2 separate regions of the Homo sapiens genome follow, and region 2 is linked to region 1. Evidence: promoter capture Hi-C in human tissues and cell types (Jung and others, 2019). All regions are on one chromosome and are shown on one strand. The core of a region is centred on a gene start or on the middle of the fragment in contact, and the rest is flanking DNA. Distances in the headings are between cores, read along the strand shown.

Region 1 (3,652 bases), core at 713-3,212:
CCTAAGTGTCCATCAATGGATAAACGGATGAAGAAAATGTGGTATATATACATAATGGAATATTATTTGACTATAAAAAAGAATGAAATTCTGTCAGTTTGCAGCAACATGGATCTGGAGAATTAGGTTAAGTGAAATAAGCCAGGCACAGAAAGACAAATATCACATGTTCTCACTCAGATCTGGGAGCAAAAGAAGTTGATTTCACGGTGGTAGAGAGTAGAATGATAGGAAGGGTGTTGTGGGGGGAAGAGGAGTGGGGAAGTAAGAGAAGTTGGTTAATGGTATGTACAAACCAACAGTTAGATAGAAGGAGTAAGTTCTAATGTTTGACAGCGGAGCAGGGTGACTATGGTTAAAACGTATTTTATATTTCAAAATATCTAGAAGAGATGACTTTAAATATTCCCTAGACACAGAAATGATAAAAACACAAGGTGATGGATATCCTAAATACCGACTTGATCACTACATATCCTGTGCATGTAACGAAACCCCCCATAAATATGTACAAAATACTATGAATCAATTAAAAAAATACAAGCACATATAAAAGAAACATTTTGATAACAAAACACCTGTAATATAAATAAACAGGTAATAAGTAAAAATGGACAGATACATATTCTTAATGAACTGAAGTCACTGCCTACAACTGGCTTGCACAAACTAAAATGTAAGGTAGAAACCATAACTATTAGCGAAACTACATTTAACTTTAAAAATTATAAAAATCTCTACTATGACTTTCAAATAATAGCGAGAATTTCCTTTCTCCCTTTTGCAAAGTGTGCCTTATTTTAAAATGCAAAAAACTGAAAATATATACGAAAAAGTTATAGACTAATTCAAAACAATGTATTAATATTTTGACAATCTCTGGCACTTAAAATGAGTCAGACGTCCCAAAACATCTATTTCGTAACTTTATGATAATGCAGCATCACCATAAAAGAACCATATGAAACACCCCCAAAATAAAGAAACACAGCAAAATTGACGTTAATTCTGGATCAAGATAATTTTCTGAGTTTCCACACGATGTTTTTGAATAGCAAACGTTATTCAAACTTGCAAATCCATTAATAAATGAAGCTTTGAATCTTTAAAAATCTCCATTCGGTCAGAAAAATTCGTTTATTTCTATGCTGTTGCTGTTTTAAACTTTGTATACTGGGAAATTTCTAAGGGAAAAGCCATGGGTTCAATTATCTTTCACCCGTCCTCCAAAAACACCACAAGCAAAACCTCCTCCCCAGCTTTTCTTTATAAAGAACTGAAAAAGTGGTTCGACTACCTTTTTTTCAGTTATCTTTGCTCTGAACTCTCCCCTACACACTTACCTCGGACCAAAACTGGCCCTGGCAAGACTATTTAAGCTATGTCTCCAGGAGACTCACAAGTTGCGTTTCGCAGTCAGGCCTGGGAGCAGTAAGGACACCCCCGTTTTCTGACTTCTCCTAGCATTTCGCACCCGCTCAGTTCCAGTGTGAAGAAGTGGGGGCCCGGAACGCTGGGCCCGAAAGGGCAAAGCCAGGGCCTACACCGCAGCATGGTCACCGAGGCGGCTAGCGCGGTGGGGAGGCAGAAGACAGAGAACCGAACGCCTGGGACCAGGGGCATCCGTGTAAACCGAAGAGGCGCTCAGACTCGGAGGGCAAGGCCCGGGGCCCCCTTCGCTGCCTCCTTTGCCCTCCCTTCCCCCATGCTGGAGAAGCAGGGCCCGGGCCCGGTGCGGGAACGGGGAGGAGGTAAACCAGTCCTGTCACCGCACTGAGAGAGGCTGTAAACGGCACATGCTCTACGGGGAGAGGCCGCGGGCGCCCCGGCCCGGACCCCGAAAACAAGACACATCACCACCCTCAGAGTTCCATTCCCTGCGCCTCACCAGGTCGTAGTCCTCCTCATCATCGCACATGAAATCATCCTCCATGTCAGACATCTTGGCCGGGAGGGGGAGGAGAAATTGGAGACAACCTCCTCCCACAATCCTCCGCGGCTCAGAGGCGTCACTCTCAGCTTCTTTCCGCCTTCCAGTCCCTCTTAGAGGAGCTGTTTCCTGCCGGAACTAATTATCTCGACTTGTAGCTGATTCGCTACGACTCCAAAAGAGACTGCACCACCCCCCGTTTCCTCCGAAGTGGTTGGTGCCTTAGCAACTAAAGCTGGCAACTGGGACATCGTCCGGTGCTGCAGGTCTCAGCCGAAGGGCGTCGGAAACTGCGCTCGCATCGAGCAGTTTCCAGCCTCCTGGGTAAAGGAGCAGTCTCCTCCCTTGCTTGGGACTCTGGACGCATCTCATTCCGGTGAAAGTAAGGGACAGCTTAGGACCAGAAGCCTTTCGCGGAGAAAAGGCTGACATGCCCGTCCTATATGACAGGTATTATTTCTGCTATCATTGTACGTGTGCATTTAGCCCACACATTGCGGTGGGTGTTCCTAAGATACTTGGAGTACTTTTCAGCAACACAGTTTACACTTAATGCTTGTTATATTTGTAGTTGACAAAACAATTCTATGGATATCCTAAATTAGGTATGCAGCTATCAGTTGAGTTGCCTTAAATCTTACTCAGTTGTTCAACGAGTTGTAAACTGACCTTTACAGCCCTTGGGACCAAATTAAGGTAACAACGACTGGTTTTTAAAAAATACATTACTGTGAACCTGAGGGCATCATGTTGTAAGGAGATGGGGGCTGCGGTGACTCGCGGGATCAGGAATTTCAAGAGAACCGAGCGGAAAGGGAAATCCGCAACATGAAGCCCTCTCTCGCTCCCAGGCACCCCTCTACCAGCAGCCTCCTGCCAGAGCAGATTAGTCTCTATCCAGAAATTAAGGGAGAGATTGCTCGTAAAGATGACAAGCTGCTGTCATTTCTAAAATATGTGTGTGTTGATTCCAAAGATCCTGTGTCTTCCGTGCAGCTGAAAGCTGCTGAAACACGTCAGGAGCCAAAGAAATTCAGATTGCCGAAAGGCCATCACTTTGATATGATAAATATTAAGAGCATTCCCAAAGGCAAAATTTCCACTGTAGAAGCATTGACACTTTTCAATAATCATAAACTTTATCCAGAAACATGAACTGCTGAGAAAATAGCGCAAGAATATCATTTAGAACAGAAAGATGTGAATTCCCTTCTTAAATATTTTGTTACTTTTGAAGTCAAAATCTTCCCTCCTGAAGACAAGAAAGCAATACAATCAAAATGAAGAAAATCACAAAAATTTCCTATGTGTACTCCTCATCCCTCATCCTGTATATTTTCTTATTTTTGCATATTAAATTATGTTAATTACCAAGTGTTTAATGCTCTCATTGTGAGAGCATCCTCTTAATATTTATTGAGCTCCCTGAATTTTCAAGATTGCCATAGACTGTATTTTGTTTTCTTTTAATTTGGTTTAGGCATATTTCATATGTACATGTTAGCATGACTAATCAGCACATCTGTACCTTTATTATAAGTAAAAGAGTTAATTTGTTATTTTAGACACATCATACCAACTTTTAAATTGGTCATATGACCCCTTGGGAAGTGTCCTGAATCCCTCATTTAAGTTTTCCTATCCAATTTAGGTGTTTAGTTCATTCTTCATATGTGATAGTGAAAGTAAAAGCTTTCCTGACTCTTAAGACTGACATTTTCT
Region 2 (3,652 bases), core at 779-3,278, 140 kb before region 1:
ATGTATTAATTCCATGAAAGCAAGAAAATCAACAAAAATGACTCAATGAAAAGTAGCCCTAAAAAGAAAGATAGCCAACAGTATTTTGGACGTAAAAGAAAACAAAATGAAAATACTTGTGACAATTCCAGAGATCCCATGCATTCGTGACATCTTAATTTTGAGAATTCACTACAAATTCAGGATTTAAGCCTCAAAAATGTCATAGGCCTACTATATAATACCTGTCCCCTTCTCTTTAACCATCTCCCTACAAAAGCATCTTTAAAAGAAACCACTCTGAAGAATAAAGAGATTTATGTAAAATATGGAGCACGTCTTCCAATCAGGAGCATTAACTAGTGATAGCTTACGTATCTATTAAAATATTTCAGACCATTCCATGAGAAGAGGAGAAAGGGGGAGCTCCTTACCTTCCTGGGAAACAATCTCCTGTGGCAAGTCATCAATAAAATCTAAGTGCATTTCTGTTGGTTCCTCGGATCCCAAAAGATTGTGGTCCACAGTTAAGCGCCCCTTCTTTTCCTCTCTTTCTTTTAAAATAACCTAAAAGTCATTACACTAGTCTTTAATTACAGATTACTCTTCAACTGTGTACAAATGATGACAATATACATTATAACACAGGTATGGTAGTTCACTTAAACATGAACATGAGAAGTTTGGCTAACTGGCAAAAAGGCAAATGTAATTTCAGACACTGTAAGTTGAAGGAAGTACTGCATACAAAATAAAGAAAAGCAATTATGTTATAGAATATACAGCTATCAAACCATATCTGATGCTTTAAATCCTAGGTGGCAAACTAGAGTTTCCAAAAAAAAAAAGGGTAAATTAAAAAGTTTGGAACCCAGGTCATACAGTTACATTTGATTGACATTCTACAGTTTTCAATTATTTGGACACGAATTATCTCATTTTGACCCTTTTAACAATAGTGAGTTAAATCAAATATGCTCCCCAATTTATAGATGAGAAAGATGAGAGTAAAATGGTTGCCTAAAATGATATGTGTAGCAAGCACTGAAGTTAATACTGAAATCCAGGGCTTCTGATTCCTGGAGTCTTAATGTTTTGGGATACTACATATTTATCTTTTTTTTAACCTTATAGAAATAATTCATTTTCCAGGGCCCCGTTCTACACAGAAAGATAGTCATGATACTGATGATATCCTGAGCTTCAAATTAACACATTATCGTCAAGATTCATGTGTATGAATACTTCTCACAACAATCTGTTGGCTAAGACACCACAACCTACTTTTACAAAACAGATTAAAATCCTTATTCATCCTATAAAATAAATATCCCACCAGATTTTGGTTTACCTTTTTAAGTGCTGTGGGTCGTTTTAGTTTTGCAATTTCCTTCTCTTTTCCTTTTTTTGCTTTAGAAGAAGCAATGTCCACAGAATTAAAGGATGTCAAACAGGGCTGACTTTTGGTTAAAGGTTTTCTATTAGTAGAGTCTTTAGTGTGAAAAGAAGCTGCAGTAACCACTAAAAACAAAGAGGAACATTAGTTTCACCATTAGGGCCAATCCCACATACTTTCAAAATTTCCAATAACTACAAAAACAAGAACATCCTCCTCCCATGGAAAAAACGACATCATAACAGTAGGAGCACTATACATGGCTAGGCAGTGTCCCTCAGATACAGCTTTTACCTATCCTTTAGAGACTAAGCCAATGCAATTAACCAATTTAGAAGTCCATTATAGGGGTAAATAATTAGTTCTACTCTCCTGTACAACCCTCAAACATGGCAATTCCTTGCAACTGGTCTTCAGTCAGAACCATTCTACCTTTGAAACTTCACAATGCTGCACCCCTTCTTATTCCTACTGAATCTGCTATTTGTCCTTATGTAAGATATCTTATCTATCACTTCTCTCCTTATTTCAGTTGGTCAGTAAAGAATGATGATTTTACCCACTCAGCTGCACTCAGCCTCACTCAGTAATTATTTTTATTTATTTATTTATTTATTTATTTTGAGATGGAGTCTACTCTGTCGCCCAAGCTGCAGTGCAGTGGCACGATCTCGGCTCACTGAAACCTCCACCTCCTGGGTTCAAGCAATTCTCCTGCCTCAGCCTCCCGAGTAGCTGGGATTACAGGCACGTGCCACCACGCCCAGCTAATTTTGGTATTTTTAGTAGAGACAGGGTTTCACCATGTTGGCCAGGATGGTCTCGATCTCTTGACCTTGTGATCCGCCCACGCTGGCCTCCCAAAGTGCTGGGATTACAGGCGTGAGCCACTACACCCGGCCTCAGTAATTCTTTTATGTCTGGTTGATACCCTCAGTTTCCACTGGCTTCTTCCAATCCTTTACTATACCTAAATCCCCAACCTCAATCCTCTCACTCTAGCAGAGCTTTCCTGCCACTTCCCTGAGAAGATGCTATCCAATATAAACTTACCAACCACCTGAAAGGAGGTGGCAGACATCCTTACTCCTGTCCAAGGCTCACCAACTGTCTTTATTCTTAATATCCCATCTCAGTTCCTCTAAGATCTAACTCTATTCCTATACCCTTGCATCTTTCGAGTTCCTCCCTGACCCTTGACTTTTTTCTTGATCCCCTAATAAGATGCTAGAATCTTCTATCTAAAAAAAAGAAAGGGTTTTTTAAAAAGGCACACCAACTAAACCCTTCCCTTCAAGCTAAGGTGCCATCATTCCCCTTTCCTTCCCTATTAAACTTCGAAACAGTTTTTCTCTCATTATCACTTTTCAAATCATTACAATTTGACCTCTGCCCAACCCATTCTCTTGAAACGTACTGTCAAGGTCACACATAATCTTGCAATTGCCAAATACAATTCTCTGACTCTTCACTCTACTCTAATTTTCTTCAGCATTTGGTACCAAGGACTACATCCTTTTCCTCAAAATTCTATCCTTGCCTTCTGTAACATTACACTCCTTTATTTTTCTTACTCTTTCTCAAATCTATGTTTCTTGTTCTTCTTCCTCTTATCCTTTAAATGTGAGCATTCCACAAGGCTTTGTCTGTGAACATCTTTTTCCTAATTTTTCTTTCCCCCAACAATCTGATTTCCACAACTTCAACAATCATCTGTATTTGAAACTCACTGACTTGTAACCTAAACTATACATTCATAACTATATGCTAAATAGGAACCACCAGAATCTCCCATGCTAGCATTTAAAATACAACAGGCAGCATCTGCTCTTCCCAACAAAATTCTTCTATAATCCCTATCTTGTGTAGTAACATCGCAGCCCTTATCACCACCACAGTCATTCAAGACAGAATCTGGAGTCATCACTGACCTGTTTCCAGATCCATCATTTCCCTATAATTCTTTTTCATCATGATCAGTCTCATCCTTTTCTTGAACATGTGTATATATGGGTGTATATATATTAAAAAGATATATAATTATATATAAAACAATATATAGTTATATAATTTATAGTAATTATATCATATTAACATTTAGCAACTGCTAAATGTTTGTTTATGTATATTAACAGTATATGTATAAATATATAAATGTATATATTTAGCAGTATATACTGTATATATAATATAGACATTATATATACTGTATATATGTACACATATAAACATATATATTAACAGTTGCTAAATTAATTGAAGTTGTAACAATAAGCC

What was found. Contacts are between HindIII fragments. The study calls those that stand out against the background at their distance.
Region 2: a contact is called between a fragment that was not itself captured here and the fragment with the promoter of COPS2 in region 1, in 1 of the 25 tissues and cell types used here (hippocampus).

What each region holds. Positions count from the first base shown.
Region 1 is chr15:49,153,637-49,157,288 of GRCh38, forward strand. COPS2 (COP9 signalosome subunit 2) reads right to left here and starts at 1,963. Exons shown (of 13, transcript NM_004236.4): 1 at 1,889-1,963. The coding sequence starts at 1,942. It also overlaps a transcript of GALK2 not described here and the pseudogene NDUFAF4P1. RefSeq lists enhancers at 1,709-2,238, 1,997-2,915. The HindIII fragment of the contact is 9,462 bases long and covers 1-3,652 here.
Region 2 is chr15:49,011,318-49,014,969 of GRCh38, forward strand. SECISBP2L (SECIS binding protein 2 like) reads right to left here. Exons shown (of 18, transcript NM_001193489.2): 12 at 1,331-1,500; 13 at 414-546. Among named protein-coding and RNA genes, the nearest start is that of SECISBP2L, 33 kb to the right of the region's middle. The HindIII fragment of the contact is 5,342 bases long and covers 1-3,652 here.